Regions from separate parts of the Homo sapiens genome. Here all the other regions are linked to region 1. Evidence: promoter capture Hi-C in 16 types of primary human blood cells and fetal thymus (Javierre and others, 2016). All regions are on one chromosome and are shown on one strand. Each heading gives the region's core, a stretch centred on a gene start or on the middle of the fragment in contact. The rest is flanking DNA. Distances are from core to core; before and after follow the strand shown.

Region 1 (4,997 bases), core at 1,708-4,207:
TCCCAAATTGAGGTGTAGGCAGAGTAATGCTTTTTCTGAAACCTACAAGGGAGAACCCTTTCTTGTCTCTTCTAGATTTGGATGTCTGCTGGCAATCCTTGGAGTTCCCTGGTTTGCAGGTGCTTCCCTCCAGTCTCCACCTTTGTTGGCAAGTGGCTCTTTTCTCCTCGTGTATCTCCCCTTCTCATAAGGACACCAGCTACGCTGGATGATGATCTCATAACTAAACTAACCTGCAACAAACCTATTTCCAAATAGGGTCATTAAGGTCATATTCTTTTTTTTTTTTTTTTTTTTTTTGAGTCTGAGTATCTCTCTGTTGCCCAGGCTGGAGTGTAGTGGCTCAATCTCCACTCACTGCAACCTTCACCCTGCCAGGTTCAAGCGATTCTCCCACCTCTGCCTCCAGTAGCTGGGATTACAGGCATGTGCCACCACACTCGGCTAATTTTTGTGTTTTTCTTTTTCTTTTCTTTTTTTCTTTCTTTTTTTTTGAGACGGAGTTTCACTCTTGTTGCCCAGGCTGGAGTGCAATGGCACAATCTCGGTTCACTGCAACCTCCCCCTCCCGGGTTCAAGTGATTCTCCTGCCTCGGCCTCTCGAATAGCTGGGATTACAGGCATGCACCACCACACCCGGCTAATTTTGTATTTTTAGTAGAGACGGCGTTTCTCCATGTTGGGCAGGCTGGTCTCGAACACCCGACCTCAGGTGATCCGCCCACCTCAGCCTCCCAAAGTGCTGGGATTACAGATGTGAGCCACCACGCCTGGTTAATTTTTGTATTTTTAGCAGAGATGGGGTTTCACCATATTGCCCAGGCTGGTCTCGAACTCCTGGCCTCAAGCGATCCACCAGTCTCGGCCTCCCAAAGTGCTGGGATTGCGGGTGTGAGCCACTGCACCCGGCCCAAATAGGGTCATATTCTGAAGCACTGGAAGTTAGGGCTTCAACATATCTTTGAGGGGGACACATTGCAACCCATACAGTATTCTTGGAACTGTAAATCGCGTTTTTGTACTAGAAATTCACTGCCCCTTTAGGCACTATGTATTCCTCTAATCTTATTTGTTACTCTTTTACGACTTTAAGAAATACAGAATTTGGTCAGTTTTAGCTGAGAGAGTAAACTTTGATGACTTGCATCAAACAGGGACTGGCACACAACTCCTGGAATTTCCAGTAAGAGAATGTGAATGGGGGACAGTTGCCGACTAGGTGCCTGAAAGATCATTTTTCAAGAAACACGTCAACAAACTTTGAGGGATACATGATAATTAAAAAACTAGCTTCAACCCGGGAGGCGGAGGTTGCAGTGAGCTGAGCCAAGATCGTGCCAGTGCGCTCCAGACTGTGCGACAGAGTGAGACTCCGTCTCAAACAAACAAACAACTAGCCCTTATAATCTTTTTTTTTTTTTTTTAGACAGGTGCATCTTTACACAGTTAAATTTCACTACTTCTTTTTTTGCAGATAAAAACTCAGGAGTTGAGAAATGAATAAACATAATAATAAATATGAGAAAACCATCATGATTTATCAAGCCTGGATAAATAATTTAATAAGTTCAGCATAGAAGACCTTGCTTTTTTTTCTTTCCTCCTTTTCTTCTTCTTTTTTTTTAACTTATTTATTTCAATAGGTTTTTGGGGAGCAGGTGGTGTTTGGTTACATGAATAAGTTCTTTAGTGGTGATTTGAGAGTTTGGTGCACCCATCACCTAGGCAGTGGACACTGCACCCAATGTGTAGTCGTTTATCCCTCACCTACTCTCACCCTAGCCCTTATAATCTTAAGATTTTTGGCTATTTAGGGCCATCTCATTCCTCCCTCCCTTCTTTGTTGCATTCTCTCTCACCTACTCCATTCCCCCCACCTTCCAAGTAAGACCATCTTTGGTAAGATGGTCTTGGTAAGAATGTGATACGCATTATAATAATTTTTCAAATCTTCAAAATTGAGGTATAATTACATACAATAAAATGAGAATGGCATGCAAATTTGTGCCTTTTTTAAAGCTTAGTAAATGTCATAATTTGGTTATAGTTTTTATTTTTCTGGATGCATTTGCTTTTCCTTACATCTACCATGCTCAGCCTTACAGAGATTTTTCTAGATGAATTTGCTTTTTCTCACATCTACCATGCTCGGCCTTACAGAGCTGCCCTTTATTTTAGAATTCCCTAAAGTGCTGTGTTGTACACAGGGAGCTTCTCCTGACTGGAACAACCTTACCTGGTACCACTCTTCCTTCAGGACCCAGATTCTTCTTTGAAACCTTTCCCTGGCCCCTTTGAATACTCTAGCTCTTTTAAAATGTATGTGGTTCTTTTTTCCCTGTTCAATTATTAATCTAACTAGGTTGTGAGTTCCTCCTCCAAGGACGTGAGGGTGCGATGTAGCTTGTCTGATTTTGCATTCCAAGTGTGTGCCCCAATGCCTGACACATAGTAGGTGCTCAATATATGTTTACTGTCAATAAGTTACAATTAACACCCCCATATGGTAATTCAGAGTTTTCATAGCGCGGTCAAACGATCTCATTTAACGCCTACTACAACCCTAAAAAATTCTAATTACTACCATCCTATCATTCTTGTTTGTAGAGTGTGGAGACTGAGAGGTTAACTGTCTTGCCCAGCGCAAGTCAACAGCAAAACGGAACTAAAATTTCAGGCTCGACACCACACAGCGTGTCGAGATCAGCACGAACTTGGCGCTGTGACTTTTCCTTAGAGGGGCCACTTAGGCTTACACTTCCGGATCCTGGGCACACAGAGACGCGAAAAGCTCCCGCGGGAAACTGGGGAGCGGGACTACATCTCCCAGAGAGCCCCGGGGCTAAACAGCAGGTGATTGGTTGATATTGACAGCCAATGCGGCTGCGAGGAGCTCGGGCAGACCAATCACAGGCCGGAAGGGGCGGGACCTCCCACGCCGAGGATAGATTGAGCGCAGAACTAACCGCGCTCTGAAAGGTTCTAAATGTCTGCGGGGCTCAGAGCCGGATGTCACGTCGTCCTCCTCTGCCGGTTTTCTCTTGGGTCCTTTTCCGTGCCGTCCCGCGACTCCGCCTCTGGCCGCGCGTGTCTGGCTGCTAGGCCGACACCAAGGACTGGCCGGGTACCCGGGAAGAAAGCACGTGCTCCAGCAGTTGCCGCGCCCAGCCCCGAGAGAGGCCCTAGGGCGCTGCGGGCTTTCGGGGTCCGCAGTCCCCCCGCGACGCGAGCCAACGGGAGGCGTCAAAAGACCCGGGCCTTGTGTGGCAGGCTCGCCTGGCGCTGGCTGGCGTGGCCCTTGGCCGTCGTCACCTGTGGAGAGCACGTCTTCTCTGCCGCGCCCTCTGCGCAAGGAGGAGACTCGACAACATGTCACCCGCGCTCCAAGACCTGTCGCAACCCGGTAACGCTGCGACCCCGTCTGCGTGGTTGGGTTGTGTTTCTTAACTCGTGCTGTGGCCTCCTAATCCCTGGGGCGATTCCCTTCTGCGGCGGGAGACGCCCGGCGGTGTTTCCCCGCGTGTGGGCGGCACCTTTAGAACTTAGCGCAGGAGCCCGGAGGGCTACGTGTTTTGCTCCACTCTTTGTCCGACCTTCACCTCTTTCTCCCCAGGCAAGCCATCAAAACCTGCAAAAAGCGTCCTCCCCTCGCCCCCGAAACACATTCTTAACGTCACAGTAACTAAACTTTCCAGTTCCACGCAGCATAAACCAGCTGGGCCCTCTGGAAGTTTTTTTTTTTGCATGGTGTGACGCTTATTCGTAAATATGTATTGCGCACCTACTGCGAAAGAAAGTTCAGGCGCGGAGAGACAGACGAGGAAACTCAGAGAACTATTTAAAACTACTACATGGAACTTTTTATTTTCTGCTTCTACGCACGCTGCTGCAAAACTGCAATATGCATAGACTCACTATGTTAAAATAGATGAGCAGACCCCACCTCCAGATACCGAAATGGGAGGTAGTAATTTCAAGCGATTCTGATGTTGGTGGCCCTGGGATCAACAGTGAGAAAAAGCTAGTTTAGCACGAGAACTGAACGTAATGTTAGCTTTATAACGAGCTCTAGATCTCTAAGGTCATGCCTGATTATAATTTGAGGACAAATACACCCGTAAAAACGGGTGAGGAGATGTAGAAACGAGAATTAGTGATAAGTACAAAACAGTAAATATCCTATCACATAGTGGGGATGTTTAGCTTCAGGAAGAGGGGGAATACTAAATTCGTAACGCACAAGGAAATTTATCAGAGGTTAACCGGTGACTCTCTTGATTCTTGGGTTCTGATAACGGGACTGATATAATTGTTCTTGAAACTAGTGGAACTGTGGCTGAGAAACACATCACTGCTGTTATTAAATAAGATATAAACCTCCCTATGAGAGGTTTATATGTTATTTAATATATTAAATAAGATGTAATGAGGTTACATCTTATTTATATTTAATATTTAATTAATAAATGTAAACCTCCCTATAAGAGATTTATATCTTATTGAATAAATGATCATAGGGAGATCATATTTATTTGGAAAACATCTTTTACTCATGATTTCTGGCCTCCCCCTTCCCATTTAATTTAAACAAGTAAAGTTATTTCCCTTTCATCTGAATTTAGGTGTCATTATCAGGAGCAAAATGCCACTGAAGACTTAAAATACTGTGAATAGTGAGTGATTTAAAAAAAAAAAATAAACTGAAAGGAAAATTGTTGAATGTTTGAATCTTGCCTAGTCCCCTCACCCCCAAGGCTGGCTTCTAGAGTTGAGCACTGAGTGGAGTTTAACCAAGTCTAGGGCCTCTGAAGTTCTGAATCAGGCCATTGTGCCTAGAAAAGACCTTAGATGTAGTCCAGCTTCTGTCTATGTGAGCAACTTTTATTGGGATTAGAATCAGGTTTTAACTTCCTAATAACCCTTAGTAATTTACTGGCGTACAATCTTAATGAAATTTTAATGGAGAGCTGGGAATTCCTGATTCTCAAGGTTGGGCC
Region 2 (4,997 bases), core at 1,633-4,132, 730 kb before region 1:
GACGGCGGGAATCAACCCGGGTGCTCTGGAAGGAATGGGATGTCATCAGGCGGCAGAGAAGGGAGGTGGAGGACCGAGCTGGGTTTATTCAGGGCACCATCCCCCAGCAGAGGATGTGGGGAGGGACCGGTTGAAGTACAGCCTTGAATCACAAATTTAGGAATTTGAATTCGCTCTGTCACTCGGAGAAGAAACTATTGAAAGTTCTTGACAAAGGGAGATAAGCGATTTAAGTGGTATCCTGAATAATCGGTTGATCGTTACTTTGGCACTAGGGTGAAAGTAGAGACAGGTAAGTTATTAGAGGACCAAGTCTAAAACATTGAAATGAAAGAAGGAGCAAATCCTGATTATAAGATTGGCATTGAAGAGGAGAAGAAACGAAGTTAAAATTGAGTTCAAGGGTTTGCACTTGGAGGACTGGAAAACCAGTACTGCCTTTTGACGTCAGGGAAGAGGATCTGGGACAGCTGGAGTTGGATATGTTTGATGTCAGACCTATCAGCGGTCAACAGGACGTCCCCGTTTCCTGTCAGCAGCTAAAAGTAACGACCTTGAACCTAGTTTATAATAATTTTTCAGAAAACAGCAAATTCTGTATAAAATTTAGGGGGCATGAGTTCTGAACCAGCAAAGACAGGAAGAAAAAGCAAAGGAAACATGCCTTCTAAGCAAAACACTTTTGATTTACTCATGAGAACTTGTCTTTTTCTTTTGAATTCATTCGCCATCAGAAATAACATTTATTACCCATCAGAGACAGCATGTGTTCTACAAGTATTCATTCATTTTGCACTCACAGTAACCCTAGGAAACAGACCTTCCCTGTTTTACAGAGAAGGGGCATAGAGGCCCAGAGAGGTTAAGTCATGTTGCTAAGGTCATGCAGCTGGGAGCCGGTAAGTGACCCTAGGTGTTCCAGCTGCAAGGACCCCACTTATAACCACTGCATTAAGTGCCCTCTGTTTACTACCTTTTACTGCAGCCTGCAGTCTGTTGTCAAATATGGTGCTTTTCCTTCAGTTCCCTCCCAACAATACAGCACTGTGAGCCCCCAGCCTGCTCCCCAGAAGCACTTCTGACTCTACTCTATGCCATCTGTGTTTCTGACTATTTCTGGGCTTCTGGGCCCCAGCACTGCCTGTTTCAGCTGCTACAGGATCTCTGTATGGAGATTCTTCTCTATCTTCACCCGCACGTGACACGGGCCCCACGACTTCCCCATGCCCTGTGGTTGAGGGAAACCCCAAGCTCAGTAGGCCTTTTTTGGCCTGTGCCTTCAACACTCCTCCTTCAAAAAACCCCACCCCAGCCTCTGTCACACATCAGAGCTGTCTCTGAAGCTGTAGTCTGTGCCTGGAATGCTCTTACCCTTCTCACGAATTCTCTCCCTTTTTGGTACTCAGGCAGCTTCTGAAACTCCTATTGGTCCATCCATGGGACTTTCCTCAGCAACTACAGGAGGAGAGCAGTTCTCTACTTTGCTGGTTCAGCACAGCCTGAATCCAACCTGGCTGAGGTCAAGGCTCTCCATTTACTGGCTGTATAAGCACGGGCAGGTTTCTAAGCTTCAATATCCTTGTCACTTGTATGGGATGTTCATAGTTAAAATCGAAGGATTGTCGTGAGGATTAGATAAGGTGATTCATTAAATGCTCCTAGCTGGGCACAAAGTAAGTATTCCGTTAATATCAAACCATCGTTGTTACCTAAATGTACAGTTTTCGTGATTCTTATTATGTCAATATTTACTGAGAATCTACCATGAGCCAGATTCTATACTAGAAATTCAAAATGCCAAGACCGTTAAGGCACAGTCCTTTCTTTGAGAAGCTCACAATCTATCAGGGAGACAAACACAACAATAACAGTGCGATGCTTTAAGAAATACACAAACCAACAAGAGATATCGCTTGTTGAATGCTGCTTCTGCTAGATGCTTAATGTAGCATTCAATTTAATACTAATAACTGCACAAGCTAGTAGCCCTATGTAGTGAAAACAAGGTTTGCAATGATTAGATAACTTGCCCAGTTTTACACAGGTAGTGAAAGAGCTAGGATTTGAATCCAGTTTGTCCGACACCAAAGCTATTATTCTTTCTGCCGCGCCATCCTGCCCATCTATGGAAGGAAAGGTTTCTCCCTTTATTTCCACCCACAAGATCTATTTGCTCCATTGTTTATACATAATGCTCACGATCTATCTGTGCATGCTTGTGCTCCTTTATTTCATCAGTATCTCTTGGCCTGAGTAAGTCCAGTATATACGGTAAATTCTCTGTCATTTACTATTTATAGCCCTGCACTCGCCTCACATTGCCCAGTCCTTGTAGGACGTAATATTGATGCTGTGTCTCCTACTAGGACAGTGTGTCCCTGTCACTCCTTTAGAATTAGTAGTTCCAAACACATTCATCATCGAATACTTACTTTTATATTGTGCTCTGGACATTTTCTAAGTGTATATAATAATTCGGTCTTTTTCTCTAGTCATTTCGTATGTTTTTCGGGGATAAGAGCTCATTGGGGGCAAGGCCCATGTGCTTTATTTGTTTTCCTGACTTCGCAGAGCCTAGCCCAATGCTGCATACACATTAATAATGTGCACAGTTCTTAACCATTTAAGAACTCACTGATATGTTTAAGAATCATCTGATATCTGCAGTACCAATGGTACCCATAATTCTGTAATATACCAGCTTTAAAAAAAAATGAAACCTTGCTCTTTTGAGATTTATACTCTTTTCTTGATGGCTGTCATCCTGATGAGGCAGAAACACAAAATTTAAGAAGCAGGTCTCAGGCTGTGTGTCTATAAGAAGCCACGGTAACTTTTCTTTTTTTGTGTGTTTGATTTTTGAGATGGAGTCTCCCTCAGTCACCCAGGCTGGAGTGCGGTGGCGTGATCTCGGCTCACTGCCACCTCCACCTCCCAGTTTCAGGTGATTCTCCTGCCTCAGTCTCCTGAGTAGCTGGGATTACAGGCATGCCACCACGCCCGACTAATTTTTGTATTTCTAGTAGAGATGGGATTTCATCATGTTGGCCAGGCTGGTCTCGAAGTCCTGACCTCAGGTGATCCTCCTGCCTCAGCCTCCCAAAGTGCTGGGATTACAGTTGTGAGCCACCACACCCGGCCCCAAGGTAACTCTTCTCTCTGACGATTCAGACAAAAGTCCAGGCAGCTGAGTGGGAAAATAGCTCAATTGGCTATTGCTCTGAAGGAGGCATTTGTTCTAATCTCACTCTCCTGTGAGGATTGGTAACTGACCATGTATGGCCATGGAGCTTTCTTTTATTTTCCAGATGTCATATAGATGTGAATGTATTAGTGTTCCAATTCCAGGGAATTCGCCTAATTCATGAATTTTTTTTTTAATTTTATTTGAGACGGAGTCTCGCTCTGTTGCCCAGCGTGGAGTGCACTGGCGCGATCTCGGCTCACTGCAAACTCCGCCTCCTGGGTTCACGCCATTCTCCTGCCTCAGCCTACCGAGTAGCTGGGACTACAGGCGCCCGCCACCACGCCCGGCCAATTTTTTTTTTTTTTTTTTTTTTTTTTTTTTGTATTTTTAGTAGAGACGGGGTTTCACCATGTTAGCCAGGATGGTCTTGATATCCTGACCTCGTGATCCGCCCACCTCGGCCTCCCAAAGTGCTGCAATTACAGTCGTGAGCCACCGAGCCCGGCCAATTCATGAGTATTTTAAACAACCCACACTCAATTGTGATCTCAGATAAAAATGACACCCTTGGCCGGGGGCGGTGGCTCAAGCCTGTAATCCCAGCACTTTGGGAGGCCGAGGCGGGCGGATCACGAGGTCATGTGATCGAGATCATCCTGGCTAACACGGTGAAACCCCGCCTCTACTAAAAAAATACAAAAAATTAGCCAGGCGTGGTGGCGGGCGCCTGTAGTCCCAGCTACTCGGGAGGCTGAGGCAGGAGAATGGCATGAACCCGGGAGGCGGAGCTTGCAGTGAGCCTAGATCGCGCCACTGAACTCCAACCTGGGCGACAGAGCGAGACTCTGTCTCAAAAAACAAAACAAAACAAAACAAAACAAAAAAACACTCTGACAAAGGATGAGAGTGAAGCAGGATTTGGTGTTCACTTTATTCTGTTTTCAAAGGCGATTAGGATAAAAAGTACCTTGGGAAAACACAATTATGTCCACCTATGTTTGGGAAGATGCCAAGCTTTTCAGGGTAAAGTTTAATTCCTATAGTTCTACATCCTGTTTTCCCATGAACGTTTTCCTGGTTCATTATCATCAGACCTCCAGCATTCACTGCTGGGGTTCCACTTGCCTTTTGTTGTTATTTTAATTTTTAATCTTGATTTATGTAATTTTCAACCTTACATAAAAATTGCAAAAATAATACAAAACGATTCCATATACCCTTATATTCCCATATCCCATATACTCAGATTTTCCTTAATATTAACATTTTGCCATGTTTGCTTTCTCTCTGTCTTTCTCTCTCTCTGTCTGTCTCTCTCTCCACACACTCACACATGCATGCACACACACACAGACACATCGATACATATATATATACATAAATTTTTATCTGGACCATTGAGGGTAAGTTGCAAACATGATACCTCTTTACCTCTGAATGCTTAAGTATATGCTTCTTTAAAACTAGAACATTCTCTCACCTAGCCATAACACAATTGCCAAAATAAGGAAATTAACATTGATATCATACTATAATCTAATTGACAGCTCTTATTCAGAGTTCACCAGATGTCAATATAATGTCTTTTAATAGCAAAAGAAAATACCAGATTACAAACTGCATTCAGTTGTCATGCACTTTCAGTCTTCTTCAACTTGAAAGAGTTCCTCAGTCATTCCTGATCTTTCATGACCTTAACTTTTTTTTTAGAGATGAGATCTAGCTATGCCGAGGCTGGAGTGCAGTGGCTATTCACAGATGTGATCACAGCATGCTATAGCCTCAAACTCCTGGACTCAAATGATCCTCT
Region 3 (4,997 bases), core at 1,309-3,808, 700 kb before region 1:
AAAAGAAATAGCACTCAAACATAAGTTTAATTTTCTCAGCAAGGCAATTTTACTTCTCTAGAAGGGTGCGACTCGCAGATGGAGCAATGGCCAGAGCACACCTGAACAAGGGAGGGGAAGGGGTTCTGATTCCTGACACAGGTAGCCCCTACTGATGCGTCGTTCCCGTATTGGCTAGGGTTGGACTGCACAGTCTAAGCTAATTCCGATTGGCTACTTTAAAGAGAGCAGGGGTATGAGCCAGAGTGGCGGGGTGAGTAGTTTGGTGGGAAGGGTGGTTACAGAACAGGTGACTCAGGATGATTCAGGTCAGAGCAGGTGACCAGGGGTGACTCAGAATGGAGCAGGTGGCCAGGGGTGACTCAGAATGGAGCAGGCGGCCAGGGGTGACTCAGAATGGAGCAGGCGGCCAGGGGTGACTCAGAATGGAGCAGGCGGCCAGGGGTGACTCAGAATGGAGCAGGCGGCCAGGGGTGACTCAGAATGGAGCAGGTGGCCAGGGGTGACTCAGAATGGAGCAGGTGGCCAGGGGTGACTCAGAATGGAGCAGGCGACCAGGGGTGACTCAGAATGGAGCAGGTGACCAGGGGTGACTCAGAATGGAGCAGGTGACCAGGGGAATAGACGTTAACTACTGATTAGAACTGTTGGAAAAGGTTGTTTAGTGAAACTAGGGCTGAGGAGAACGAGGAAGTTCAACTTTAAAATGGAGAACAAAGAACTGAACATACTGACATACTGATTCTTTGAAGAGAAATTTAGAACTCACTGTATTCAACAAATTATTATTTTTGCTTTTAAGTGTCTGTGGAATTCACCGGTGATCCACCTGCCTCAGCCTCCCAAAGTGCTGGGATTACAGGCGTGAGCCATTGTGCCCGGCCAAGAACAGCCTTCCATTTCTACCTTGCCTGTAGCCTCCCAAACCAAAATACGGGTCTCAACACCTGGTCCTTGATCTCCTTGACTCCCGTTGGACCCAAGAAGTATGGCTTCTCTCCCCTTTCCTCTGGTGGATGGCCCTGGACACAACCCACCTCACACTAACAGAGACAGAGGGGTGGTCCAAGGGAAGTGAGTGAGAAGTTACCTGCAGAAGAGGGAACTTTTGAGAGAAGGAACCAGGTAGCTGTGAGGCCCTTGAAAACAGAAGGCTGTCAAGGCAGATTTGAAGGGAGAATATATGTGAATTAGCAAGTGCAGGAGATAGAGAGAGCACTAACTATTAGAAAGAAATGAAAATAGGGCCAGGCGCGGTGGCTCACACTTGTAATCCCAGCACTTTGGGAGGCTGAGGCAAGTGTATCACTTGAGGTCAGGAGTTCGAGTCCAGCCTGGCCAACATGGCGAAACCTCCCCACCATGTCTACTAAAAATACAAAAATTAGCTGGGTGTGATGGTGTGCACATGTAATCCCAACTACTTGGGAGGCTGAGGCAGGAGAATCTCTTGAACCTGGGAGGCGGAGGCTGCAGTGAGTCAAGATTGTGCCACTGCACTCCAGCCTGGGCGAAAGAATGAGACTCCATCAGAAAGGAAGAAAGGAAGGGAAGGGGAAAAGAAGGGAAGGGAAGGGAAGGGAAGGGAAGGGAAGGAAGGAAAGGAAGGGAAGGAAGGAAGGGAAAGGAAGAAAGGAAGGGAAGGGAAAAGAAGGGAAGGGAAGGAAGGAAAGGAAGGGAAGGAAGGAAGGGAAGGGAAGGAAGGAAGGAAGGAAAGGAAGGGAAGGAAGGAAAGGAAGGGAAGGAGGGAAGGGAAGGAAGGAAGGAAGAAAGGAAGGAGAAACTAGGAATAGGGAGAGGATAAAGAAATTTTAGTTTTTGAAAAAGCTGTGTTAAGCTAATCAAGTCACATGAGATCATGCAGAGATGTGGCTACCATAGTATCTAAAGAAAAGGACTCTGAGGCAGGCAGCCTGCCTGGGTTCAAATCCTGCCTCCCCCACTTATTCACTGTGCAATCTTGGGCAAGTTACCTAACCTCTGCCTCAGTTTCCTCATTTGTGATGGTTGTTGTAAGGATCAAGTTATTGCACGTAAAGTACTTAAAACAACTCCTGGCCCATTAAGCACAAGAGACCTGTGTTTTGTTCTTGTACTATCTTCCTCTTCATCATTATGTACCTATAAATTAACTAACCTGGATGTTACTGGCATTTCAAGATTTCCTTGCACAGTGCTAAAAGTCACTGTTCAAATTGTGCTCACAATCTGTGCACTCTTATCAGAATATGGGCAAGAAGTTGGACAGAGTTGCCCTACTAGAGAAAGTGGGTATATAGAGAGCATCTTTTACATATTTGCATTGGGGCTGTCTTTCATCACAATGGGAGCAGAATTTGACAGGCAGTAGGGTGGATGAGGTGCAGCTCCACACTAACCAGCTGAGCCATGTGAGCAAATATTGAGCACATCAACCCCATTCATCATCAGGCTTTTTTTTTTTTTTTTTTTTGAGACAGAGTCTCACTCTATTGTCCAGGCTGGAGTGCAGTGGCACTATCTCAGCTCACTGCAGCTTCTACTTCCTGCTTTCAAGTGATTCTCGTGCCTCAGCCTCTCAAGTAGCTGGGAATACAGGTGCACACCACCATGCCCGGCTAATGTTTTTGTATTTTCAGTAGAGACAGGGTTTCATCATGTTGGACAGGCTGGTCTTGAACTCCTGACCTCTGGTGATCCACCCGCCTTGGCCTCCTAAAGTGCTGGGATTACAGGCATGAGCCACCGAGCCCAGCCATCAGGCTCCCTCTAACACGTGTTTACATTTAATCATTCGATTTGCATAAATCTAGCTTCTTGCCTGCCCTAGACATGTGTGGCTTTGTTGCAAAGCTAGACATGCTTTAAAATTAATTTGAAATGCATGTAACTTTTGCTATCCCAAAGATGGTAATATAGCTGCATAGCATTCCTAGAGACCTCCAACACTTCCTTCCTTCCCGAACAGAGCATTTAACTCTCTTCTCAAACTACCGACTGTCTGGGGCGGTGTGCCATGATGCCCCGGGGGAAGCTCCGTGGATCTGGAAGGCAACTCGGGACATCTGGTCTGGCCAGCCCACCCACGTAATGCATTCAGCAGACCTGCCCCCTACACAGAGGGCTGAGCCTCTGAGCTCCCACAGGCTCTACCTTATAAGCAAAGACTGAAGAGTCTTTGTTCATAAGGAAGAGAGAAGAAAGAAAAGAAGCAATTAAACAGAATTGCAGGAGCTCCTAGAGTCTGTCAGTTTCTTCAGAGCCACGCCAGGGTCTCACCTATCTTTGTAGGCTGCTCAGTAGAAGTGAGGCACCCAGTGGGTGCTGGCTGAGGTCTCCTCTCCCTCGGCAGGGTCCCTTCTGATGGCCTCCCTCCTCCATCTGCAACAATCCCCCGCACCCCTGTGGGCTTCCTTCTTCCCACCACCTCTGCATGCTGGGCCCTCTGGGTTCTGTCTTCTTCCTATTGGAAGCTCCCTTTCCAAATGACCTCCTGTCCTCTGCTGGCCCAGACCTCCCCTTATGTGCTGTGAATCCCCCATCTCCAACTCCAGCCCAGTCTCTCTTCTCAACATGCAGTGGCCGCTTCCATCCATGTCCCCCAGGCATCCTAAATTCAGCACTTCCAAAACTGGAATTCACAGGTTTCCCAAATGCACTTGCACGCCTGGGTTCCTCATCCAGCCCAAGACACCACCTTTCCCCGACTCGCTCTGTCTAAAACCCGAGTCTTCTTCGACTTCCTTCCCTCTTTCCCTCGTGCCTAACGATAGTAATAGTATTGCTCATATGCATTGAGTACATCCAGTGTGCTAGACAGCATACGAATCCCCAGCAGTTTCCTTTGATACACCTACTACATGAGGCAGGTACTATTATCAACAGCATTTTATGGATGAGGAAGTGGGGTGCAGAGAGCTGGCTCGAGGGGGCAGAGCTGGTGGAGAGCTGGACTGAGACTGGGATCTGTTTGATTCCAGAGCTTGAGCCTTTTGCACCACTCTGCTCCATCTTTGACCGCCACACACCCTAAAAACAAAACAAAACCCAAAACACTCCACCACTGAACAATTTTGGTGACCACCGTCCCACCTCTGGGAGGGCTGGGAGTCCCCAGAAAACACAGAAGTAGCTCCCAGGCCCGTAATTCACCCCAACATTTTTGGTTCTAGAAACCTGGCAAAGCAGCCACATTGGCCCAAGCCAGCGACACCGCGCGGCCCCGCGCTTCCCACAGCCCTGGGCCCGGCAAGGCTGAAATCAAGTCTAGAAGATGGCAAGGTGGGAAGGAACGCTCCTCTTTCATCTTGCTTCAGAGAAAACCTTCGCCAGTCTCAGCATCATCAGTACACACGTGGCCTGCTCTTCAGCGGATCTCACCAGTAACACCTTCTGGCATTTGGGCTAGAGACCGGGCCCCTGAGGCCGCCCTGGGAAGCCTGAGGTGTGGAGGGGGATTCAGGATGTGCCTCTGTTCCTGTATGTGCAAGTGTGAGTATGAGTGTGTGTGTGAATGTGGAGGTGGGTGAGTGCATGAATGTGTGTGTGTGAATTTGAGTGTCATGTGGGTGTCTCTGTATGCATGTGTGTGTGTACATGGTGTCTTTGTATGCATGTGTGTGTGTGGGTGTTGTGTGTATGTGTACGTGTGTGCATGTGTATGTAAATGTAATTCTGTGGGTGTGTGTGAGTATATGTGTCAGAGTGTCATGTGGGTACATGGGAGTGTTGTGTGGGTGTGAGTGTGTGAGTGCTATGTGAGTGTGTGGTGTGTGTGTTTGTGTGTTATGTAGGTGTGTTTGTGGGTGTTGTATGTGTGAAGGTGGCCGTGTATGTGGGTGAGTGTTATGTGGGGGTGAGTATGTGTACGCGTGGGTGAGTGTGGGTGAGTGTTGTGTTATGTGGGTGTGAGTGTGCATGAGTGTGTGAGTGCTATGTGTGTGGTGTGAGTGTGTTTGTGTGAGAGTGTTATGTGGGTGTCTGTGGGTGTTGCGTGTGTGAATGTGGATGTGCATGTG
Region 4 (4,997 bases), core at 1,290-3,789, 680 kb before region 1:
CAGGAGAATCACTTGAACCTGGGAGATGGAGGTTGCAGTGAGCCAAGATTGTGCCATTGCATTCCAGCCTGGGCAACAAGAGCAGAACTCCATCTCAGAGAAAAAAAAAAAAGGCATATATACGTGTGTGTTGATTTGTGTATAGAATAAGACATGCATTTAAAAAAAAAAAGGTAGGATTGCAAGTGGGGTTTTTTCTTTTTCTTTTCTTTTTCTTTCTTTTTTTTTTTTTTTGGAGACGGAGTTTCGCTCTTGTTTCCCCGGCTGGAGTGCAATGGCGTGATCTTGGCTCAGCACAACCACCGCCTCTTGGGTTCAAGCGATTCTCCTGCCTCGGCCTCCCAAGTAGCTGGGATTACAGGCATGTGCCACCAGGTCTGGTTAATTTTTGTATTTTTAGTTGAGACGGGGTTTCTCCATGTTGGTCAGGCTGGTCTCGAACTCCCAACCTTAGGTGATCTGCCCACCTTGGCCTCCCAAAGTGCTAGGATTACAGGTGTGAGCCACCGCACCCAGCTCCGGTTTTTTTCTGTTTCTGAATTTTCCTATGTGTGCTGCATGGAACCATTATAATTAATTTTAAAAAGCAAATATATTTCATTTGTCTCTTGAAAACTTAAAACAACTCTTTATAAGAATTTTACATGTGCAAGATGGTATACTATATAGTCATTTACAATAATGTTTTAAAAGAATATTCCATAATATGAGAAAATATTCATGCTATATTTAGTGGAAGGAATAGGTTATGTAAAATATACTGTTTTTGTTTGTTTGTTTGTTTGAGATGGAGTTTTGCTCTTGTTGCCCAGGCTGGAGTGCAATGGTGTCATCTCGGCTCTCTGCAACCTCTGCTTCCCAGGTTCAAGCGATTCTTCTGCCTCAGCCTCCTGAGTAGCTGGGATTACAGGCATGCACTACCACACCTGGCTAATGTTTTGTATTTAGTAGAGATGGGGTTTCACCATATTGGTCAGGCTGGTCTCGAAGTCCTGACCTCAGGTGATCCACCCACCTCAGCCTCCCTAAGTGCTGGGATTGCAGGCATAATCCACCACACTTGGCCAATATACCATAATTTTTAAAAGGGCATTTACAGAAAGACTATCAGTAAGTCTGGTATAATACATATAAACTGTGGGGTTACCAGGAATGCATATCTGCTTCTTTATACTTTTCTGTATTTTCCAGATTTTTAATTATGAATATGAATATGAGTATGAAGCTATAATAAGAAAAGTTATTTGAAAGTCACATTATCAAATTGTTCAGGTTATCATGGCCAGGCAGGGTGGCTCATGCCTGTAATCCCAACACTTTTCGAGGCCGAGGTGGGCAAATCGCTTGAGCCCAGGGGCTCGATACCAGCCTGAGCAACATGGCAAAACCTTGTCTCTACAAAAACTATAAAAATTAGCCAGATATGATGGTGCACACCTGTGATTCCAGCTACTAGGGAGGCTGCAGTGGGAGGATTGCTTGAGCCCAGGAGGCAGAGTTTGCAGTGAGTCATGATTTCACCACTGCACTCCAGCCTGGGCAAAAGAGCAGGACCCTGTCTCCAGAAAGAAAAAAAAAAGTGTCAAGTTGAGAGACAATGGTTATTTTTTATTTTTGAGATGGAGTCTCGCTCTGTCACTCAGGCTGGAGTGCAGTGGCACCATCTCGGCTCACTGCAACCTCCATCTCCCGGGTTCAAGTGATTCTTCTGCTTCAGCCTCCCGAGTAGCTGGGACTTCAGGCACGAGCCACCTCGTCCGGGTAATTTTTGTATTTTTAGTAGAGACGGGGTTTCACCATATTGGCCAGGCTGGTCTCAAACTCCTAGACCTCATGATCCGCCCACCTCGGCCTCCCAAAGTGCTGGGATTACAGGTGTGAGCCATTGCGCCTGGCCAACAATGATTATTTTTAATTTTATTCCATGGTTTTCTATATTTTCCAAATTCTTCTCAATAACATAAAAATGATTTCATATTGTATTAATTACTACAATGCAACATTGTAAGGTCGGGGGACGCTGATGGTAGTCTACCTCCTGATCCTCTAGTATGCAGTATTTCACCCAGGGTTTTCACAAGCAGTTTCTCATTTGGTCCTCAGAGGACCCTATACCTAGGTGAGGATGGCGGTGCTGCTTCTGAGAAGTCGCTGCCTCCCCTTCTCCCTTTAGCCTCCCTGGCAAAATAAGACACTTCGATTGCGGGGCCACAGTCAGTTCTGACTCTGATATCTTACGACACCTATCAGGGATCAGCCTGGACCTGTTACCTGAGCGGGGTGTGGCCTCCTTTCCTCTGCGCTTTCCCCACACCTGAAACTCCTGATCATTCAGCCCCTTACCTCTCCCAAGCTTTCAGCACGAGCTCTCCTTCTTAGCCTTCTAAATAAATAAACAACACCTGCACAGAACACTGCCATTTTCTGTAAGCTTTTCTTCCCCTTTAAAAATTGCAGTAAAATATACATAAGACAAAATGTATCATTTAAATCATTTTAAGTGTACAATTCAGTGGGGTGATATACATAAGGCAAAATGTATTATTTAAATCATTTTAAGTGTAAAATCCAGTGCCTTTAAGTCCCTTCACGATGTCGTTGCAACTGTCACCACCATCCAGCTCCGGAACTTCTTAATCATCCGTGGGTAAGCTTTTGAAGCTTTTGAATCCATAGTCTCATAACATTTTATTGCCGTCCTCATCGTCAGGTGAGGAAACTGAGGCTTTCTTCCTTACCTTGCTTTTGTGTTTTCTCTTTAACACTTGCACTCTGGCTTTTGCCCGTGGCTGTCCTGGAACTGACTCCCTTCAGGCTGTCAAAGGCCTCCTGGGGGCTGAGTTTCATGGGCTGCTTCCTGGTCTTGTCTTGTTTCTGGTCTGCAGCATTTGACAATCTTGTTTTCCAATCTCTCTTAGAAATTATCTCCTCCCCAGGTTTCCATAATACTCTCTGTCTTGAGTTTCCTACTACTAATTCTTGGGTGTTTTCTTGTCCTTTTCTTTTCATGTTTTTCTGTTTGATTGTTTTGTTTCTTTTTGTTGTTTTGAGACGGAGTCTCGCTCTGTTTCCTAGGCTGGACAGCAGTTGCTTTATCCTAGAACTTATGATGTAGCTGCCTGTGTGCCCATCTGTCTCCACAACAGAGCAAGGTCCTGGAAGCAGAGGTCGGGGGCGTGGGGGAGGTCTTGCTTGTCCTCTTTATGTCTCAGTGCTTAGTGTACCTTATATTTGGACAATGAATAAATAAATGTGCGCTGCTCTAGAAAAGAGATCATTGTCTCAATGGAGTGAAAATCAGTAAGGGGTAGGTCTCGGCTCACTGCAACCTCCACCTCCCTGGTTCAAGTAATTCTCCTGCCTCAGTCTCCCGAGTAGCTGGGATTACAAGCGCTCACCAACCCGCCAGGCTAAATTTTTGTATTTTTAGTAAGAGATGGGGTTTCACCACATTGGCCAGGCTGGCCTTGAACTCCTGACCTCAGTTGATCTGCGGGCCTCGGCCTCCCAAAGTGCTGGGATTACAGGCGTAAGCCACTGTGCCTGGCCCCTTTTCATGTTTTTATGTTTTGAGACGGAGTCTCGCTCTGTCACCCAGGCTGGAGTGCAATGGCGTGATCTCGGCTCACTGCAACCTCCACCTCCCTGGCTCAAGCGATTTTCCTGCCTCAGCCTCTCAAGTAGCTGGGATTACAGGCGTGAGCTACCACCCGGCCTCTTTTCATGTTTTTAAATTAGTCTCCCCTTTTTATTTTATTTTATTTTTTAGATAGAGACAGGGTCTCGCTATGTTGCCCAGGCTGGTCTCGAACTCCTGGACTCAAGCAGGTTCTTTTCTTCAGGCTTCTCCTTCTCCTGCCTCAGGAACTCATCCTCACTCCCTGCAACGTTTCAATAAGCACTTGCCTGGTTTGCCTGCCTCTGGCCTTGCTAATTAGACAACTACGATCTTTCTACCAGGAAAGTGTGATCCTGCCCTCAAGTCTACAAGGGCGGCCTGAGCTGACATGATAACATCTAACCTCTTTAGTTAGATATAGGATGTCCCTTGTCATCTGGCCCCTGGTGACCTCTAACAATATCCCCATCCCACTCCACCCCTTTACAGTCTGCAGTAGAACCGTCTGCAGTCCCAGTGCTGGAAGCCCAGGCTGCCTCATGCCTCCCTGTCTCTGCATACATGGTCGCTTTATCCTAGAACATATGATGTAGTTGCCCGTGTGCCCATCTGTCTCCACAACAGAGCAAGGTCCTGGAAGCAGGGGTAGGGGCGTCGGGGAGGTCTTGCTTGTCCTCTTTATGTCTCAGTGCTTAGTGTACCTTATATTTGGACAATGAATAAATAAATGTGCGCTGCTCTAGAAAAGAGATCATTGTCTCGATGGAGTGAAAATCAGTAAGGGGCAGAGTAAGGACTGGACATCAGGTCTTGGAAAGTTCTGACCCTTCCCACTATGTAAACATCCTTTCTACTGAGGGACCTCACGGGGTGACAAAGCCTTAGAGGAAATGTACGCAGTCTCTGCATGGTCCTAAGAAAATAAAGGAAATAAAGTAAGTGTTGTAATCCTGGACTGGAGTAGAAAGACTTCTTAGGGGGAGGCATTTTAAGGAGGGTGGAGAGGGGGATGCTTCCCGCCTCCGGATCACAGTCTACGAGAGCTTGCTGCTTTAGATGAGCCCACACCAGACCGAGACACAGGCAGAGCGGTGCGGCTGAAAGACATCTCTGCATCAGAAAACTTGAGTCCTGGTTTTTTCTACATCTGCCGCTGACTAGCAGATCTCAGAAGGCCCAGCAGCCTTCAGGTGTAAAACAAAGGAGTATTTTCCATCTCTTTCAACCCGAAAATCCAGAAAGTGGGGACATCTGTGTTTGAAGATTGTTCAACATTTTTCAGATTAAACTGATCCACATTTTCCAAGGTATCAAAGTGGTGGCTGCATCCTCTCATGGTGCTGGGAATCACAGACTTCTCCCCTCACCCTTGATTGTG
Region 5 (4,997 bases), core at 1,722-4,221, 660 kb before region 1:
GCACTGAGCCAGGTTTCTGATTTTCAACATCTGTTGAATGCACAGCCTTCTCTGGTCTCTTATGTGATAGTTCGGGGACTGATTGGAAAGAGTTGGAATCAGGGGATGGAGAATGGGGACAGATGGGACTAAGGACTCAGTGCACAAAGCTCCCCTTATCACAGAAAGCAGCCCTTTCTCTCCGTGTGAGGAGGCTGTTCCTGCCTTGCTGGAAGAACTATGGTTCTTGCCTGAGGAAGTCAAGTTGCCTTGTGTCTCCCACTTCTCATTTTCTTCAAAGACAGAACTAGATACCAACATATCCCTCATTTTATAAAGCCAACCCTGGATGGAGAATTACACACCAAAATAACTACAAGACTTTGCTCTTTATTCTGGAAAAAAAGTCTTCAGAATACATGTGGGAATGGATTTTAAGGGTGCTAAACCAGAGTAGGAGGCAAAGAACATTTGTTTACCAAGAGATTCTAGTTCAATATGCTTCCTGGAGCAGAGGGAGGGGTCTGTTTGTCTGGTTCATTGGTTGAATGAAACCTGGAATTGATGGCAGCCCACATCATTCAAGAGAAGCTGAGAGGTCTGAAATTATCAAGCATAATGTAGAAGCAGGAATCCCAGGAAATAGGAATGTTGCTGTGGATTTATTGTGCAAATCCCACTCACCAATCCCCTAACTGGTCCTGGAGAGGGACCAGAAGACACTCCCTTTGTCAAGGCACCGAGAGAGACACTGGTGAGAGAAGTATATCTCAAAAGTACTGTCGTAGCTATACTCTGTACATCAGGGATGCTATTGAGAGCGGCTGGAGATGAATGGACTCCCTCATGTTTGCCAGGATCCTGGGTGCCAGAGTTCAATGGCAGCACAACCACCAGTAAGGGAGAGGTTATCCCAATAGAAGGCAAGATGATCATGACCAGTCTGAGAATGGCCAGTCTGACAATCAGAATTGCCTGCACATCAAAGATCTTTGGCAGAAACTAATTGAATATGAGCTCTTAGGACAAATGAGATGGGCGGTCCTCTGTGGACCTGCTTAATATAGTTGACAAAAGCAAAATAAAAACTCCCTAGATCTGAATTAAACCATCCCATCAGAGAATGTTGTACCCGCATCCAACTCTCAGACCTGAACTTGGATGCCAAAGAAGTGGTAAATTCCTAATCCCAGCTACTCGGGAGGCTGAGGCAGAAGAATCGCTTGAACCCAGGAGGCGGAAGTTGCAGTGAGCCAAGATTACGCCACTGCACTCCAGCCTGGGCAACAGAGCGAGACTTCATCTAAAAAAAAAAAAAAAAAAAAAGGCTGGGCACGGTGGCTCACGCCTGTAATCCCAGCACTTTGGGAGGCCAAGGCGGGCAGATCACGAAGTCAGGAGATTGAGACCATCCTGGCCAACACCATGAAACCCCGTCTCTACTAAAAAAAAAATACAAAAAAATTAGCTCGGCATGGTGGCGGGCGCCTGTAGTTCCAGCTACTCAGGAAGCTGAGGCAGGAGAATGGCGTGAACCCAGAAGGCGGAGCTTGCAGTGAGCCGAGATCACGCCACTGCACTCCAGCCTGGGCGACAGAGCAAGACTCTGCCTCAAAAAAAAAAAAAAAAAAAAAAAAGGCCGGACGGAGGGGCTCACGCCTGTAGTCCCAGCACTTTGGGAGGCCGAGGCAGGCAGACCAGCTGAGGTCAGGAGTTCAAGACCAGCCTGGCCAACATGGTGAAACCCCGTCTCTACTAAAAATACAAAAAAATTAGCCAGGCGTGGTGGTGGGCGCCTGTAATCCCAGCTACTCGGGAGGCTGAGGTAAGAGAATTGCTTGAACCCGGGAGGCAGAGGTTGCAGTGAGCCGAGATCGCGCCATTGCATGCCAGCCTGGGCAACAGAGCGAGACTCCATCTCAAAAAAAAAAAAAAAAGAAGTGGTAAACTCCCATCACTTTTTCATCTAACTGTTCAGTTGGTACACAGATGGAGGGGTCTTGGAAAATAAAACAGGTAATCATAAGCTTCATATGGTGGTGACTTCAATACAGCAAGCCCACACAGCCTCTGGAGGAAAATGGTTTTTTTCTCATTCCCAATAAGTGAAGAACTCCAAAAGCCACTTTGTCTCATCTAGTAAGGATACTTTCCTATCTCCTTCAGGGTTAGGTCAACTCTGGCTTCATGCCACAATTTGGTCTTCAGAACTCTTAATCATTTTAATGTTTTTTGGACATCACAGTGATACTATATTAATGACATCATGCTATGAGGACCCACAAGGCAGAGATGGCAGTTATTCTAGGCATGTAAGAAACATGTAAATCTCATGAGTCTACAGGGGCCTGTGACCTCACGGAAGCATTTCAGGGAGTCTAGGTTGAGATAGCTCCTCCAAAATGAAGGATGAGATATTACAGCTGACACCGCCTCCTACAGGAAGCAGAAGCGTAATGCTTTGAGGTCCTATTTATGGAAGCAATATTTGTCACATTAGTGGGCTTCTCTGACCCACTTATGGGGTGTCTCAAAAGGGAGCTAATTTTGAGAAGGGGCTCAAGGCAGAGGAGATGCTCCATTTGGTTCAGGCTGCAATGCCATCTGTTTTGTCATCCATGACTCCGTGGATCTAACGGTGCTCAAAGTGTCAATGGCAGATTGGAGAGGTGTACATTACCTGTGACAAGCCCTGTTAGGAGAATCACAGTGTCAGTTATAAGGGTTTGGGAACACATACATGCCTTATTTGTCAAATAACTATTTTTCTTTTGAGAGAAAGAGATGGCTTGCTCCTGGGCTGTGGAAGAGACTGAATGTCTCATCAAGAAGGCAGATTACCATGGAGTCTGAGCTGCCCGTCTTGAGCTGCATGTTATTTTGATCCATCAAGCCACCAAGTCAGGTTCCCCAAAACACCCAGCTCTACTGGAGGCTCTCAGCATTCAGGTGGACATGTCTACCTGCCCTGGGTATGGAAGACATCTTCTGTCCCCAGTTAGCCCACTGCTTATTCAATGGGCTCATGGACACAGTGACCATGCAGGCAGGGACTGACTGATCCATTTTGTAACAATCTGGACTTCCCCACCAAGGCTGACCTGGCTTTTCATGAGTATCGCCAGCCAACTCTGAGCCTTTCAAGAGGTTTCAAACTCAGGGGAAGTCCTAGACAGCCACCTGAAAGCAGATTATATAGACCTCTTTAATCACGTAGGATATCAGCAATTTGTCCTTGCTGTAATAGACAATGTTTCTGAACTTGGACTGACTTTCTTTGCCTCCTGTGCCTGCGTTATTGTCCCGGGACTTTCTGAATGCATTGCTCATCATCATGGTATCCTATACAATATTGCTCTGACCAAGGACCTCACTTTATACTAAAAGAAGAAACGTGGTAGGCTAATTTCTGTCCCTCAAGTAGCAGCTGGCCTTATCCAGTGGTGGAATGACCAATTGTAGGCTTAGTTATTGTGCCTGCAGGACAACAATGCACAGAAAGGTAGCATTGGTGTCCTATAATATATAGAATTTCTTCTGAACCCAAAGCTGACATATCGTGCTATTTGTCCTGCAGTCAGGATACATGGCTACAGGAACCAAGAGAATGGCACCTTTCACTAACACTCAGTGACTTACTTGCAAATTTTTTTGTTTCCCGTTCCTTCGCCTCTAGGCTTGGCTAGTTTGAAGGTCTTAGTAACCAAGGAGGAACTCTTCTACCCCAGGAGATTCAAGTGTGGTTTAAGTGAAATAAAAGTTGAGACCCTGGCTATTTCAGACTCCTCATGCCAGTGGGTGAATTGTAAAAAATAGTATGATGGTGTTGGCTGTGATGACAGTAACTATTAAGAGGAAGTAGAGTTGCTGTTATATGATGAGCAATAAAAGGTGAATAGACAGAATTCAATCATGGTAGTGCCTCTTGCTGCTGGCATGTCCAGTGGCAAACATTAACAAGCTTAGATTCCTCAGAAATCAGGGCTACCCCTGACTAGCTGAGATCCCTGATGAAGGGAAAGGGAAATTTTGTAACGTCCATTAAGGAGAGCAATTACAGCTTTATGACCAGTCAGAAAAACAACAACTCTAACTTATATTTTTTTCTTGCTGTGTCATATGTATGTATTTTATAAATTGATGCAAAAGTAATTGTGGTTTTTGTCATTACTTTTAATTGCAAAAAGCCACAATTACTTTGGCGCCAACCTAATAATGAATTCTCCTTTCCTTTACATTTTTTTCTTCTACTATTTTATACAGGACAAACTAGTGATGGATAACTTAATAATTTAGTCCGTAAGATACAGAATGTTGAGATGAGATGGTGACAGAATTGGAGGAATGGCTATCACCCAGAGCTCCTGGGCTTGGAGCTGGACACAGAAAATGATGATCCTTTTGGGGGAAAGAGGGAATGTGTTTTTCTGTTTTCTTCCTTCCTTCCTTCCTTCCTTCCTTCCTTCCTTCCTTCCTTCCTTCCTTTCTCCTTCCTTCCTTTTTTCCCCTCCCTCCCTCCTTCCTTCCCTTCCTTCCCTTTCTTCCCTTCCTTCCTTCCTGATGGAGTCTCACTCTGTGGCCCAGGCTGGAGCTCAGTGGCGTAATCTCAGCTCACTGCAACCTCCGCCTCCTGGGTTCCAGCGATTCTTGTGCCTCAGCCTCCCTAGTAGCTGGGATTACAGGCATGTGCCACCACACCCGGCTAATTTTTGTATTTTTAGTAGAAACAGGGTTTCACTTGGTTGGCCAGGCTGGTCTCGAACTCCTGACTTCAGTTGATCCACCTGCCTTGGCCTCCCAAAGTGCTGGGATTACAGGTGTGAGCACCTGGCTTGGAATGCTTTTCAATTGTACAAGGGTTATTAAGTGGGAGCATCTTTATTGTATTTTCAGAATTGTAAAGATGATAAGAAACATTTGACACTAGGTAGTCAAAGAGGTGAACTGTTGTAGCCATCTGGCATTCTTTTTGTCTGCTTTGAAGTCATGATAAAGATGCTAGTTTTTCCTAAATCCAT
Region 6 (4,997 bases), core at 944-3,443, 520 kb before region 1:
TGTAAAAACACATGCAAGAGTTTCTCCAGGTTGGGCCAGGCACAATGACTCACACCTGTAATCTTAGCACTTTGGGAGGCGGACACAGGAGAATTGAGTCCAGCCTGGGCAACATGGCAAAACCCTGTCTCTACAAAAGTACAAAAATTAGCCAGGTCTGGTGGTGAGCATCTGTAGTCCCAGCTACTCAAGAGGCTGAGATGGGAGGATCACCTGAACTCAGGGGGTCGAGGTTGCAGTGAGCCAAAATCACACCACTGCACTCCAGCTTGGGGAAAAGAGCGAGACCTTGTCTCAAAAGAAAAAAAAAAAAAAAAAAAAAGAGTTTCTCCAGGTTATATGCTTAGGAATAGAACCGCTGAAAGTATATGTTCAGCTTTTTCAGGAAATGGCAAAATGATTTCCAAAACAGTTTTACCAATTTATCAGCCCCTCAACAATGAATGGGACTTACTGTTGAGCCATATCCTATTTTTTTTTTTTTTTTTTTTTGAGACAGAGTCTCACTCTGTCACCCAAGCAAGAGCGCAGGATCACAGTCTTGGCTCACTGAAACCTCCGCTTCCTGGGTTCAAGTGATTCTCGTGCCTCAGCCTCCCGAGTAGCTGGGACTACAGGCACATGCCACCATGCCCAGCTAATTTTTGTATTTTTAGTAGAGACAGCGTTTCACCATGTTGGCCAGGCTGGTCTCAAACTCCTGGCCTCCAGTGATCCGCCTGCCTCAGCCTCTCAAAGTGCTGGGATTGCAGGTGTGAGCCACTGTGCCAGCCCATATCCTCATCAATATTTAATATTAATCTATGCTTTAATTTTTGCCAATCTAGTTAGCATGAAAGATTATCTTTTTTCTTATTTGCACTAAGAAGGTACAATGTTCATATGTTTTATGACACATTTATATTTCTTCTTGTGTAAAATGTCTATTTATATCTTTGATTCACTTTTCTGTTAGGTTATCTTCTTCATACTCATCTGCAGAAATCAATACTGCTTCTTCCCTATTCTATTATATTCTTTTAGAACTCCAATTAGATGTATTAGACATTCTCACTCTATTCTCCAGGTATCTTAAGTTCTCTTTAATATTTATTATCCCATTGTCTCTTTAGATTTCATTCTGAATAATTTATTTGCATCTATCTTCCATTCACTTATTCATTAATTCAGCCTATTTACTGAGGCCCAACATAAGATTTGCACTGCTTTAAGTGCTGGGGATATAAAATTAGAAGAAAAAAAAAAGACAGACAAAAATCTCTGCCCTCAAGGAGTTTACATTCTCATAGGGAAAAGGGGGTGCAAAATGAATGAACAAAGTACAGAATGTCAGATGGTAATAAAGTGATATAGATAAAACTAAGGACTGGAAACAGACTGCAGAACTGGGGCTGCTAACCATTTAAAATAGGACAGTTACAGAAGGTGTCATGAAATTTTGGCAAGGAGCAAGACATGCAGGTATCTGGGGGGACAGCATTCCAGGCATTGGGAGTGAGTGCAAAGATCCTAATGCAGTAAGCTTGCCCCATGTTTTTGAGGAATAAGGAGGACTATACAATAGGCAAGAAGGAGAATTAGACCACTATAAGATTTTAGCTTTTACTGAATCTGAGTTATTTTCTCACACCAACCAATTCTCCAACTCTGAGACCAACTGGGTGGTGTCCAACAATTCAATTCTGACACTATCCACCATCAGTGCAGACCTACAAATTAAGGGCTGAGTCCCACAAGATGGCCCCACTCCTGACACAAATCTCAGGTCCTGAGCCACTTGTTCTTCTGACTGGCTATCAATTGTGGGTTCCTAGCACTTCCATTGCAGGTTTGATAATTTGCCAGAATGGCTCACAGAACTCAGAAAGACACTTTACTTACAGTTATCAATTATAAAGGATACAACTCAGTAATAACCAAATGGAAGAGATGCATTGGGCAAGCTACTAAGGCAGAGGGATGTGCAGAGCCTCCGTGCCTCTCTCAACATGCCACCCTCCCAATAAGTCAATGTATTCCCCAACCCGGAAGCTCATCAAATCAAGTTGTTCAAGAGTTCTTACGGAGCTAAATCTCCAGCACCCACCTCTCCCCTTCCTGCAGATTGGTGGGGCCAAAAGTTTCAACTTTCTAATCACTTGGGTCTTTGTGGTGACCAGCCCCCAATCCTGAGGCTATCTATGTAGGGTCCCCGTCTTAAGTCATTTCATTACTATAAACACAAGTGTGATTGAAAGGGGCTCATTATGAGTAACAAAAGGCACTCCTATGACTCAAATTCCAAGGGTTTTAAAGGGCTCTATGTCAGCAATCAGAAATAAAGACCAAATATATTTTTGGATGACACCATGTGAGACAGGAAGCCAATGGGGAGTTTTAAGCAAAGGGTGACAGGAATTTGGTGAGGATAGAATGTTTCTCTTTTATATTTGTGTGGTCAGGGACATTTAAGACAAGAGATGTCAGATAAAGTGACACTTTAGCAGAAATCTAACAGAGTGAATCATATGAATACACGAGAAAAGTGTGTGCTAGGTAGAAGAAACAGTACAAAGGCTTTCAGGCAAGAATGTATCTGCCATGTTTAAGAACAACAGGCAGGCCAATTTGGCTGGAGCTTATGTATAAGGGGGGAAGACTGTGGAAAAAGCAGATTTGGGGGAAAAGATCAGAAATGTGGTTTCTATATCAAGTTTGTGATATCTATTAATCCTCCAAGTGGAGATGTCCAAAAAGAAGTTGGATACATAGATCTAAAGCTGAGAATCCTAGTCTTGGAGACTAACACTGAGAGTCCACTGTACATTTGGTATTTAAAGCTAAGAGACCAGAAGAGATGACTAAGATAAAGAGAAGAAAGAGTACAAGCTTTGAACCCTGAGGTTCAAATGATTAGCAGTCAATGGCAGGGGAGGAACAAAGAAAGAATGCTAAGACAGACTGGTCCACTAGACAGGAAGACAATCAGAAAAGTTTAGTATCCAGGATGTCAGAATAAAAATTATTTCAAGGAGAGTGAGTGATGAGTTGTGAAAAAATGCCGCCAACAGGTAAAGCTGAGGTTTAAGAACAAACCGTTGGCCTTAGCAACAAGGAGGACATCGGCGACCTTGCCAAGAGCAGTTTCAGAGGTGCGGTAGGAGCAAAAGTCTGATTAGAATGGGCTGAAAAATAGAAGAACCAGCAAAGGAAGAATAAATTAAATCTAACTCTTGAATTTTCTAGAGGGAACAGAAAAAATAGGCAAAGGCAGAAGGAATATGTGGATGAAAAGATAACTTTAAAACAGTAGAATTAGCAGCATGTTTTATGATATATAGTCTGGCTTTATCTCTTCACTCAAATCTCATGTCAAATTATAATCCCCAGTGTTGGGGAGGGGCCTGGTGGGAGGTGTTTGAATCATGGGGGCGGACTTCCCCCTTGCTGTTCTCCTGATAGTGAGCTCTCATGAGATCTGGTTGTTTAAAAGTGTGCAGCACTTCCCCGATTGTAAGTTTCCTGAGGCCTCGCCAGCCATGCTTCCTGTACAGCTGTGAGTCAATTAAATCTCTTTTCTTTAAAAATTACCCAGTCTCAGGCAGTTCTTTACAGCAATACAAGAATGGACTAAGCCAGGCACAGTGGCTCACGCCTGTAATCCCAGCACTTTGGGAGGCCAAGGCAGGCAGATCACTTGAGGTCAGGAATTTGAGACCAGCCTGGCCAACATGGCAAAACCCCATCTCTACTAAAAATACAAAAATTAGCTGGGCGTTGTGGCAGGAGCTTGTAATCCCAGCTACTTGGGAGGCTGAGGCATAAGAATTGCTTGAGCCTGGGAGACAGAGGTTGCAGTGAACTGAGATCGAGCCACTGCTCTCCAGCCTGGGTGACAGAGCGAGACTCTACTCCAGGAAAAAAAAAAAAAAAAGAATGGACTAATACATGATGACAGTAAAATTCCATTTGAGAAGGAAAAACTGATGATCCAGGAAAGAAAGAGAAGATTACTGGAGCCATGTCCATGAGCGGCAAACAAGGAATGAGACCTAACATACAAGTGAAGGGGCTGCCTTTGATAAAAGCACACAGTTCATCAATGGTAACCAACAGGAAGTCAAAATATGTGGGTACAGAGACTAGTAAATGGATAGATATGGGTTACTCTGTGGAATTTCTCTTCTGATTGCTCCAATTTTAGTAAGGTATGAACTGAGAGTAAGGATAGATGAAAAGGTGATGGAGAATTAAGGAGAAAGAAAAAAGACATGAAATGGTTGTCTAATTCAATAATCATTTCTTCAGCTGGATATGATCAGCTATTTAATCTATCCATCGAGTTTTAAATTTCAGTTCTAGAACTTCTAATTCATTATTATTAAAATCTTTTTGGCCACTCTTTAAAATCTTTTTTCCCTTCTATACTTCAAGTTTCTTTTTATTTGAACACATTAAACATAGTGATATTAAATTATCTGATAATTTCAGAACCTAAGGTCATTATGTGTTTGTTTCTGTTGTCTAATATCTGATTCATGGTGCCCTGTTTCCTTGGGTGTTTTGTGATATTTTACTGCTAGCTGTTTATTCTCCTTGGCACTTCATCTTCAATAATTTTTCGAGGTTTGAGTTGAAAATAAATTCCTCCAGAGGTGATGGATATTTGCTTTTATTGGAAACCCAGGGCACACAAATTTGGGACTGCTATGAATTTTCCCAGAATAAATATTTGGCTTGCGAACCTGTGTGAGGACTGTCTCATGGTTACAAATTCTCAAAAGTTTCTTCCCTGCTTCTCCCAGCAAGTTTCTTTTATTCCCTTTACTTAGAATGGGTTTCATTTCTCGTTTACCCTTATACTGAGGATGTAATTGTTTGAAGTCCAGGCTCCAAACAGCTACATCCTCAATATAAGGGTAAACGAGAAATGAATTATGGTGGAGGCTCCTATTAGTTTCCTCTCACTGGGCAGACACGGGGTTATTTCTTGCCCACTCCACTCCATGCAACTGCTA

What was found. The method cuts DNA at HindIII sites, captures the fragments that hold promoters and counts their contacts. A CHiCAGO score of 5 or more calls a contact.
Region 2: a fragment that was not itself captured here is called in contact with the fragment with the promoter of MTR in region 1 in 5 of 17 cell types (naive B cells, fetal thymus, total B cells and 2 more); the score reaches 6.6 in naive B cells.
Region 3: a contact is called between a fragment that was not itself captured here and the fragment with the promoter of MTR in region 1, in 1 of 17 cell types (total CD4 T cells). The highest score is 5.3, in total CD4 T cells.
Region 4: a fragment that was not itself captured here is called in contact with the fragment with the promoter of MTR in region 1 in 2 of 17 cell types (naive CD4 T cells and non-activated CD4 T cells); the score reaches 5.8 in naive CD4 T cells.
Region 5: a fragment that was not itself captured here is called in contact with the fragment with the promoter of MTR in region 1 in 3 of 17 cell types (activated CD4 T cells, naive CD8 T cells and total CD4 T cells); the score reaches 8.3 in activated CD4 T cells.
Region 6: a fragment that was not itself captured here is called in contact with the fragment with the promoter of MTR in region 1 in 3 of 17 cell types (total B cells, naive CD4 T cells and neutrophils); the score reaches 6.5 in total B cells.

Annotation. Positions count from the first base shown.
Region 1 is chr1:236,792,335-236,797,331 of GRCh38, forward strand. It overlaps MTR (5-methyltetrahydrofolate-homocysteine methyltransferase), which reads left to right and starts at 2,958. Exons shown (of 33, transcript NM_000254.3): 1 at 2,958-3,403. The coding sequence starts at 3,370. RefSeq lists enhancers at 2,984-3,273, 3,374-3,563. The HindIII fragment of the contact is 5,693 bases long and covers 2,018-4,997 here.
Region 2 is chr1:236,065,784-236,070,780 of GRCh38, forward strand. No RefSeq gene overlaps it. Among named protein-coding and RNA genes, the nearest start is that of NID1, 3.2 kb to the left of the region's middle. The HindIII fragment of the contact is 2,633 bases long and covers 1,567-4,199 here.
Region 3 is chr1:236,096,791-236,101,787 of GRCh38, forward strand. No RefSeq gene overlaps it. Among named protein-coding and RNA genes, the nearest start is that of NID1, 34 kb to the left of the region's middle. RefSeq lists enhancers at 1-1,013, 1-463, 439-733, 464-966. The HindIII fragment of the contact is 9,622 bases long and covers 1-4,997 here.
Region 4 is chr1:236,115,637-236,120,633 of GRCh38, forward strand. No RefSeq gene overlaps it. Among named protein-coding and RNA genes, the nearest start is that of GPR137B, 24 kb to the right of the region's middle. The HindIII fragment of the contact is 221 bases long and covers 2,430-2,650 here.
Region 5 is chr1:236,135,245-236,140,241 of GRCh38, forward strand. No RefSeq gene overlaps it. Among named protein-coding and RNA genes, the nearest start is that of GPR137B, 4.8 kb to the right of the region's middle. The HindIII fragment of the contact is 1,934 bases long and covers 2,005-3,938 here.
Region 6 is chr1:236,273,510-236,278,506 of GRCh38, forward strand. All of the region lies in intron 1 of ERO1B (endoplasmic reticulum oxidoreductase 1 beta), which reads right to left. Among named protein-coding and RNA genes, the nearest start is that of ERO1B, 6.0 kb to the right of the region's middle. The HindIII fragment of the contact is 1,346 bases long and covers 1,521-2,866 here.